Regions from separate parts of the Homo sapiens genome. Here region 1 is linked to region 2. Evidence: promoter capture Hi-C in human tissues and cell types (Jung and others, 2019). All regions are on one chromosome and are shown on one strand. The core of a region is centred on a gene start or on the middle of the fragment in contact, and the rest is flanking DNA. Distances in the headings are between cores, read along the strand shown. Region 1 has its middle 42 kb from the start of SNORD12. Region 2 holds the start of SPATA2 (spermatogenesis associated 2).

Region 1 (4,772 bases), core at 787-3,286, 590 kb after region 2:
GAAAATAAGCCAGAGGAAAAGTGGTAGGAGGTGACATCAGAGAGGGAGGGGACAAAGATAGCATATAGGGCCTTGAGGACTGTTGTAAGGAGTTCAGATTTTATTCTAGGCATGACGAAAAGCCATTGCCGAGTTCTGAGCAGAGATGTGACGTGGTGATACCAAAGGTTTCAAAAGGATGACTGCCCATCTCTCTGGGTGGGGGTGAGGGCAGAAGCATGATGGCTCCTGCGGTTTCCCAGGAGAGAAAGGATTATCTACAGTAGAAGAAGCTGCTAGAAGAATGAGTTTTGTGTCACTGAAAGTGTTCACAATGTGGCTAAAAAACCTGGCAGGAAGACTGCAGACCAGATTCAGGCACTGGCTGGACAGCTGGACCAAGGGGTATCCCCAAAGTCCACCACGATCTCCTGCCCTGCCTGCCAGGCAGGTGAGAGATTTTGCGGAAAATTAGGCAGGCACCACCCTGCACGTGTTCTACCCGTCTCACTGGCAGCACGCACACAAGAGGGAACCATCATCACCCCTCGCATAGGCCCAGGATCACAAACTCAGTACATCTGTGGTTATTCTCGTAGTGTCTGCCTCCTCCATTAGAGTGTCAGCTCCACAACAATAGGGTCCTCATTTGTCATGTTCCCTGCTGTATCCCATCACCAAGCACAGGGCCTGGCACACAGCAACTCAGGAAGTGATGTGCCACTGAACAATGAGTGAGCAAATCTTGCCTTAGCAACAACAAAGGAAATATAACCACAGGCTGACATTGCAAAAAGGCAACACCAGATAGCAGTGTTTCTCAAAGCAAAGCCCAGCCCACTTTTCCTGACCAAAGAAGAAATTCTAGCTTCCCAGCCTTACAGAAAGGGGTAGGGCGGTGGTAAGGCTGCTCACTGAGTCCTGGATACCCAGATGACATCGTGCCAGCTGAGCCTGCCATGGCCAGACCACATTTCCCACAGACCCCTTAGAATCGCTTCACCCCACCCTTACAGGCCCAGGCTCATGAAGGAACACCTTTTTTTTTTTTTTTTTTTTTTTTTAAGATGGAGTCTCTCTCTGTCGCCCAGGCTGGAGTGCAGTGGCACCATCTCGGCTCCCTGCAACCTCCGCCTCCCAGGTTCAAACGATCCTCCTGCCTCAGCCTCCGGAGTAGCTGGGACTATAGGCACGTGCCACCACACCCAGCTAATTTTTGTATTTTTAGTAGAGACAGGGTTTCACTATGTTGGCCAGGCTGGTCTCAAACTCCTGACCTTGTGATCCACCCACCTCAGCCTCTCAAAATGCTGGCATGAGCCACGGGGCCCAGCCAAGGAATGTCTTTCTGCATTATCCAAACCCCGCTTTCTCCTCTGAACCACACTGCCCAGCCTCCTTACCATCTGCCCTCCTTATTGTCTACCAAAAGGATTTTCTAGAATACAGTTCTGGCCTGTTCCCTGAAATCCCTCAGTGGTTCCCATCTCCTATTGAGGGGGTTCACGAAGGATCTTTTTTGACAGTGGATCATAGATGGAGACCCCCAAGCTCAGTGGCTAAAAATCTACATTTTCCTGCAACTCATCCACAGTCATTTACCGTGCCCTCCTCCTATTCAACATCTCAGCACACTTTACCCAAAGTTTCCCAAAGCACGTGGTCTCCCACAGCTGAGTAGTACCCTCCCAGCCTCCTTTCCCCCATCTTCTGGGAATACCACCTCAGTTTTCTTCTGAGAAACCAAAACTCCCCACTCTCAATCCACATGGTTTGGACAGGGCTGATCGCACCCTCTCGTTCCTGGTATGAGGCAGGTGACCCCCACATGGCCAGTTGATATATTCCTTCTCCCTGGGTTCAGTGATTGATTGGGTCAGCAATGACCATTTAATCCAAACTGAGCCCATGAGAACCAGCCCTGGGATTTTGGCTGGAACTGGGGAAAAATGCTCTCAATCCATTAAGGATGGCAGTTTACAGCTACTGTCTTTGACCACTAGCTTTGCTACCACTTGGTGACAGCATGCCTGTAAATGAAGTTAACACAAGAAAAGCCGAAGAATGGAAAGAGATAGAGTCCTGATGACATCCTTGGAGCCCCTGGATCCAGTCATGCCTGAAGCTCTGGAATCCCTGGGTTGTTCTTTAGTTACCTAAGCCAATAAATATCCTTGTTAACTTAAGTTAAATTGTGTCACAACCCTAAGAGTACTAAGTCTACAGGAAACACATAAGTGTATATGTAGGGACATCAACCATACAGGGTTGAGATGATATTTAAGAAGTATAGAATACATGGAAACATTCTGTAAATAACTTGGAAAATACAGTGGTGTCTATCTTTCAAGGCCTTACTAATCACTCCAGCCCCACTCTCTCCCTGCCTCCACACCATCCTCACCAATCATTTCCAAGCTTCACCTTGCTCAGACTGAAATTATTTATTCCTTTCCCAACTACCTTGTCTCCCAAAAATAGACAATAAGCTTGAGGGGTACCAGAACTCCAGCCTTGCTTCCATCCCCCAGTGCTTCTAGCTGAATTGGGCACACAGAAGGTGGCCACCAATTGTAATTGAGGCTGGGTGTGGAGGCTCACACTGGTAATTCCAGCACTTTGGGAGGCCAAGGCTGGAGGATAGCTTGAGCCCAGGAGTTTGAGACCAGCCTGGAAAAGATGGTAAAACTCCATCTCTACAAAAAATACAAAAAAAAAAAAAAAAAAAAAAAAAAAAAGCTGGGTGTGGTGGCCCACACCTGTAGTCCCAGCTACTCAGGAGACTGAGGTAGGAGGATCACTTGAGCCTGGGAGGCAGAGGTTGCAGTGAGCCATGATTGCACCACTGCACTCCAGCCTGGGTGACACAGTGAAACCCTGAAAAATAAAAAGAAAGGAAGGAAGAAAGAGAGAGAGAAAAAGAAAAGAAAAGAGAGAAGGAAGGAAAGAAAGAAAAAGAAAAAAAAAGAAAATTTTAATTGAACTAAATGGGGAAGATGTCAAGGGGTCTCCTTACACCTGTAGACTCAAGCTTCCCTCTCCTAACATTCTTGAGTCTCTGCCACCCTTGAGCTGCTATACAATATTGAGATCTGGAGTCAGACTGCTGGAGTGCAAATCCCAGATCTGCTGTTTAAGAGCTGTGCAACCCAGAACACGTCACTTAACCTCTCTGTGCCTTAGTTCCTCATCTGTAAAACAGACATGATAACACTGTTCCATAGCGTTATTATGAGGCTTAAATGAGACAATTTACTTCAAGCACTTAAAATAGTACCTTCCTGACATTTGGTATTTCATAAATATTAGATTTGTTGTTTGCGGATTTTGTTTGTTTTTTAAGTCATCTTCAACATCTCCCTCTATTACAATTGATCACTTAAGGCAGTTGACTTTATCTCCTAAAAATAGCCCATGAAAAAAGCAAATACTTCTCTACATCTTTTGCCTCCTAACTAGTCCCCTCCTGCCTGCTCCCCTGGGAGGTGGAAAGTGAACTTTTCCCTGCGTCTCTTCACAAGACCCTGCTCCAGATAAGGAGGCAGATCCCAAAAGAGCAAAACAAAGGTGAAAGCAAAGCTTTGAGGCTCCTGGTTCCTCCAGCCCCCACTCCGTATAGAAAGGACATCTCTTGGGAGGGGCTAACATTGTGTGATTCTGTGGGTGTCGGTCAGACCATGAGAAAGTATCACTGATGCCTTTGCCTGGACCCATCCTGGGCCCCCACTCCTGCGCTGTGGCAGGGGAGCCCCTGTTGGTGGTGCTAACCTGGGACTTCAGCTCCAATCAGTACAGACCCGCGGCTGCATGAACTCTCTACACAGAAAACCAACCAGTACAAAAGCACCCCCAGGCAGTCCTTCCCCAAATTTAATCTGGAAGGAGTTCTCTTTTGCCTATGGCTTGAGAAGACACCACATCCAAAATTACTTTCTCATCTCACTGCTGCCTGAATTTCCAACGTTGGCCACTCCTGGCAGCAAGGAGCTAGAAGACTCAGAATCAGACCCAGCTCCTCCACTGGCTGGGAATTCTTGACTGCCCAAAGCCCTCTCCTCTCTGAGCCTTGCTTTTCTTGACTGCTAAACAGGGATGTTATTCCATACCTGAACCCCAGAGGGCAGGGAGAATGTATTCAGGTTCCAGGGGACATCCAGCCCAGCTTCTGGGCACAGAGGGATAGGTGATTAATGGATGTTAGGTCCCTTACATTTTTATTTATTTATTTATTTATTTATTTATTTTTGAGACATGATCTCGCTCTGTCACCCAGGCTGGAGTGCAGTGGCATAATCATAGCTCACTGCAGGCTCAACCTCCTGGGCTCAAGTGATTCTCCCACCTCAGTCTCCTGAGTAGCTGGTGCTACAGGCAGTCATCACCATTTGAGGCTAATTTTTTTTTAATTTTTTGTAGAGACTGGGTCTTCCAATATTGCCCAGGCTGGTCTCGAACTCCTGGCCTCAAATGATCCTCCCACAGCCTCCCCAAGTGTTGGGATTACAAGCATGAGCCACTGTGCCCGACCCATTATGCATTTTTTTAAAAGCGCCCTCTCTGTCTTTTAAAACAAATTTCTGAAGGAAGCTCTAGTGATATCACACGGTAGAGGGGCCCAATCAATCACTTTCCTCCCTGACATAGGAAAGTTGGGTCATAACCGTTTTACAGGGTGACAGAATTTAGATTTTTTTTTTGTCTCCAGTGGGTGTGAAAACTTTACTTCTGGGATTTAAAAAGGATAGAGAGCCAGACATGGTGGTGCGTGCCTGTCATCCAGCTACTTGGGAGGC
Region 2 (5,163 bases), core at 1,778-4,277:
GAGAGCAGCCTTGGCAAAATTGCGAGACCCTCCCTCTACAAAACAGTTAACAAAATTAGCCAGATGTGGTGGTGTGCAACTGTGGTCCCCGCCACTCAGGAGGCTAAGGTGGGAGGATCGCTTGAGCCTAGGAGGTTGAGGCTGCAGTGAGCTATGATCATGCCACTACACTCCAGACAGGGTGACAGAGTGAGAGACCCTGTCTCAATTAAAAAAAAAAAATCTGACATCAAACTTGGCACATGGTAGGTATTCAGTGAAAATTCTGGTCAGAAACAAATTATGTTGAACAACCTATTGCATGCTAGGTAGTGCATATATGTCAGGTAGTAGTAATATAATTGTGAACAAAACAGACATAGTTTTGTCCTCATGGAGTTCACTGACTTCTGGGGGAGAAAGATATTAATACAGATCACATAAATGTGTGTTTGTGGAATGAAAGACAGATATCTGTATCTGTGTTCCTGTCCCCAGTTGACTTTTTTTGTTTTGTTTTTTTGAGACAGAGTCTCACTCTGTAGCCCAGGCTGGAGTGCAGTGGTGCCATCTCGGTTCACTGCAACCTCTGCCTCCCAGGTTCATGCCATTCTCCTGCCTCAGCCTCCCGAGTAGCTGGGACTACAGGCACCCGCTACTGCGCCTGCTACCACACCCGGCTAATTTTTGTATTTTTAGTAGAGACAGGGTTTCACTGTGTTAGCCAGGATGGTCTCGGCCTCTTGACCTCGTGATTTGCCCACCTCGGCCTCCCAAAGTGCTGGGATTACAGGCGTGAGCCACCGCGCCTGGCCATGCATCACCCTTTTTAAGTGATCCACAGTATTTGTTAGTATGGATATACCATTACCCCAGTGATGGAGATTTAAATATTTCCTATTATTGCTTTTGCATTAGAAACAATGATGCAAGAGGTCTCTTTGGGCACAGTGTATGTTTCTCTAGCAGATTTTGAGAAATCCAATTGCTGGGTCATGGGGTAGCTTTTCTGTTTTGCTTTTTGTTCTATACTCCTCTGTATTGTTGGAATCATGTATTACTTTGGTGATGGAAAAAAAAACTAAAAAATAGAAAGAGGTAGGTAGATTGTTCGTGTTGTTGGCTCTTCGGAAGTAGAAGTGCCTAATCATTGTCACGTGACCCTTACATAATCTGGTAATCATTATATAATAAAGTCGGGAAAGGACGCTCCTGTCATTTCTACATCACCAAGTAGAGAAATCACAAGCCTTCAACTGTGTTTAAAAGATGAGAAACATGGCCGGACACAGTGGCTCAGGCCTGTAATCCCAGCACTTTGGGAGGCCGAGGTGGGCGGATCACGAGGTCAAGAGATGGAGACCATCCTGACCACCTTGGTGAAACCCCATCTCTACTAAAAATACAAAAAATTAGCCAGGCGTGTTGGCGCGTGCCGGTAGTCCCAGCTACTCCGGAGGCTGAGGCAGGAAAATGGCGTGAACCCAGGAGGCGGAGCTTGCAGTGAGCTGAGATTGTGCCACTGCACTCCAGCCTGGGTGACAGAGCGAGACTCCGTCTCAAAAAAAAAAAAAAAAAAAAAAAAAACTGAGAAATGTGACTGTCTTTGGAGACTTTGGGTCTTTTCTGATAGTAGATGATGACCAGGGTTTCCTACTGGTAAAGCCCTTCTTCAAAATCTTTGTTTCTCTTTTGCCTGTCATAGACCCACAGAGCTGGAGGGGACTTTTTTAAGCAGCCCCACGTGAAAATGCAATATTGTAAGAGCTACCAAACCAGAGTGCTGAGTTGCTGTAAGAGGCAGACTTAAGGTGGGACAGTTTGTCTCAGATGGAATTCCTGTGAACATCATCACATTGCAGATAATTAAGAGAGGAGCTTAAACATGAGCTGATAAAGAACACAGGGACTTTGAGCGGTGCTCAGGCAACGACAGGTAAACACAGTAATGCTACTGTTTGGACAGCAGCAGATTGCTGGTTCTCCAAACGTTTCCCAGTATTGTGTCACTGACTCATCACACAAGCCCCACCGGTTTTAGCTGGGGTCACCAAGACTCAGAGTGAGAATCCTACAATCAATGAACATCTGTTGTGTGCCTCCTCATCAGACATGTGCAGAGCTCGGGGGGAAATAGATGAATAAGAAGCTCAGGGTCTGGTGGGGATGTCAGATTATATATATATATAGTTTATCCGAAAGTGCTGGGATTACAGGCGTGAGCCGCCGTGCCCGGCTTTTTTTTTTTTTTTTTTTTTTTTTTTTTTTTAAGAGACGTGGCCTCGTTATGTTGCCCAGGTTGGTCTCGAACACCTGGGAGCAAGCCATCCTCTCGCCTCAGCCTCCCGACTAGCTGGGACTACAGTCGCGTGCCACCACGCCTGGCTTTATTATTTAATATTACAGGTTAGAAAGCTGAGGCTCAGAGAGGTTAGGTAACTTGTCCAAGGTCACACAGCTAGTAAGTGGCAAAACTAAAAATAGAACCCACGCTCTTAACCGCCGCCCACGGCCCGTAACACCCGCAGCCCTAGCAAGGCTGGATTCCAATCACGCGTGATTTCAGCATCTCACTGGCTCTCTTTGAGCCTCGGTACTTCTGTCCGTAAAATGGGGGCGAGGGATCCGACCGTCAGCCCCTGCTTGCTTGTGCGGAGTCATGAGTACAGCTCGTGGATCATGATAAGTGGCAGGTCCGGGAAGTGGAGGCCGAGTTCACGCAGTCAGCACTCATAGCTCCCAGCTCCCTGCTCCTGAGCGGTTTCCATGACAACCCGGCCAGCCACCATCCCTAGGCCGAGCGGCTTGCGTCACGTCCGGCCTGTTTACTTCCGGGTCCCAGTCTCAGACGCAGCGATGGCTCGTTAGGCTCCAAAGTGCGGTTCCGCCGGTTTCGTCCTCGCTCTTCGGCCTTCCGCTTTGTCCTCCGCCTCTGGGTTGTAGTCTCCGTCGGCCGCGGGCATCGACCGCTTCCCGGAGCCAGCGCGCAGCCGTGGTCCACCCTCTCTTCGGGCCCGCCTCATGGTGACATCATTTCCGGGCCGAGTGTTTCCGGGTCGCTGCTGGCCCCCGGGTACTGGTCTCAGTACCCCTGCAGCCGGCCGGAGAGGCTAGAGCCCGACGGGGCCCGGCTCCGGCGGCAGCCGCGCCTCTCGCTTGCTTCCCTCGGCCGGGCCGTCCTCGGCGGCAGTGTCAGGGTGAGTGACGGGCGGCCGCGGGCGGAAACTGCCTTCGGGGCTTCCCCAGGCGGAGGGGGCGCCAGACAGCGGCAGGGCTCGGCTGGCCCGGGAGCGGGGTACCCTCACGGCAGGCAGGACTACAGGTGGGCCCGCTGTTTCGGCGCTCCCGGGACCCCCAGCCTATCCTCAGGACCCCCATTCTCCCGGGAGCTGCCTCGCAGGCTCCTGGGACCCGCCGAGGGTGGCTCAGGGCCGCCCAAGAGGAACACCCCTCTTCGGCGACTGGCCAAACAGAAGGACACCCCGATTTCGCCACGAGGCAGTTACCGCGCAGGGGTTCCCAGTTCAGGCTCTGGCGGCACACCTGGGTTTGTACTCACTGTGTGACCTTGGATAAGTCACTTCATCTTAAGAGCCTCAGTTGCCTATTTAAGTGATTGAACCTGGTTGCTAGGGCTGGAGTGGAGATGGAATGAGATCATGCAGGGCCTCTGGCATACAGCAGGCGTCCAATAAGTGATAGTTCCTGTTACTTCATTCAATTCACGAAGCCGTAGGGGGGGCCAGAATTTGAGACTGGGCTGTTTTTCACAACTGACGTGGCCCCCCGAGGCTGTAGGAATGACCGAGCTGGGACTTAGCAGCCGCCAGCTTCTGTCCCCTGCAGGGAGGGAAACAGCTTCCTTCAGAGCTTCTCCGAGAGAGGCAGCTGCCACTAGGGAAGCTTCTTTCAGCACCGCTGAGGTTATTTTCAGAGGTTTGGAAGGACTCTGTGTGAATTTCTTTGGAATCTAGTAGGAGTGTGGGGACCTTCTGGTGTTTCACAGCCAGTGGAAGGTGCCTTGGATGTTTCTCGGAGCCTCTTGCTTGGAACGAGTGCATTGGTGTGGGTGGGGAGGTGGAGGGGGTTGAACTGACTTCCCCGTCTCCTGTTTGGAGGCTGATGGAGCTAGACCAGGGATGTGTAAACCTGTGGACAGGGGCAGTGCACAGACCAAAATAGGTCTGCCTGTGCAGAGAGGGGGCGCCTTCAAATGCTGCTTGGGGAACATTTCTGCTTGAATGGGCCAGCTGAGGTAAAGCCAAGCTAATGCTTAGCTACTCGGAATCACTTCACTTCCATGCAGTGGGACTCTAAACAGATACAGCTTTCCTCTTAGATGTTCAAAAAATAACTAAAGAAGCCACTGGCTCCCTGACTGTGCAATATCTCTTTTTCCATTGACTTGCTTTTCAAGAAGGTACCTAGATTGTGGGTGCAGGAGGTGCTGACTGGAGCCGTTGACTCTGGGCACCTGCCTGTCTCTGTGTTCAGGATATTCACAGTGCTGTTTTTTTGTTTTTTGGGTTTTTTTTTTTTTTTTTTTCCACCAGACTGGCACGGCTTGGCGTTCCAATCCTTGGGTTGCTTGGAGAAATTAGCAGCTTCTGTCGCTGGGCTGTCTCGGTCTCCTGTAACCACGATGTTTTTGCAGAGAGCGTATTTTGTTGTTCTTGCAGAGTGCTGGGAATGAATTGCTGGCTCTGTGCTCAGAAAAAACACCAGCTATGACCAGCTACAAGGCATCTTGTATTCTCAGAAAATGTTTTCAGCAGGGATGATGTCAGCTGCTTCATCACTGGCCGATGTCTCTGACCAGCCTCTTTCCTTGGCCCTTGAGCTTACATCATATAGAGATTAGCTCTCCTAGCCCCATTCGGTGTGGGAAGATGGGAATTTTGCTACTACAGGAATTTTTGTAACTCAACTCTGCTCGCGCCGCCATAAGGCATTCTAACTTAGCCAAACACTTTCGAGTAGAGCTGTCCAGCAGATGCAGCAGGATGGCTTTGCAAGAGTCGGAGTTTTGGCGTTAGACCTAGGTTCAGAGCTCAGATCCACTTCTTCCTAGCCTTACGACTTAGGGTAAGTGAGTTGGCCTCTCCGAGCCTCAGTTTCCTCTTTAACCTTGGATCTATCCTGTGGATTTCATTGGTTTTCACAGAGCAGTTAGCAGAGGGATGC

What was found. The method cuts DNA at HindIII sites, captures the fragments that hold promoters and counts their contacts. A contact is called where the count stands out against the background at its distance.
Region 1: a contact is called between a fragment that was not itself captured here and the fragment with the promoter of SPATA2 in region 2, in 2 of the 25 tissues and cell types used here (H1 embryonic stem cells and lymphoblastoid cells).

Annotation. Positions count from the first base shown.
Region 1 is chr20:49,319,891-49,324,662 of GRCh38, reverse strand. No RefSeq gene overlaps it. Among named protein-coding and RNA genes, the nearest start is that of SNORD12, 42 kb to the right of the region's middle. RefSeq lists enhancers at 1-433, 434-935. The HindIII fragment of the contact is 6,734 bases long and covers 1-4,772 here.
Region 2 is chr20:49,913,393-49,918,555 of GRCh38, reverse strand. SPATA2 (spermatogenesis associated 2) reads left to right here and starts at 3,027. Exons shown (of 3, transcript NM_006038.4): 1 at 3,027-3,176. It overlaps LOC105372653 (a long non-coding RNA gene), which reads right to left and starts at 2,734. Exons shown (of 3, transcript NR_134564.1): 1 at 2,471-2,734. RefSeq lists enhancers at 2,986-3,045, 3,840-4,009 and a silencer at 3,076-3,325. The HindIII fragment of the contact is 5,477 bases long and covers 1-4,921 here.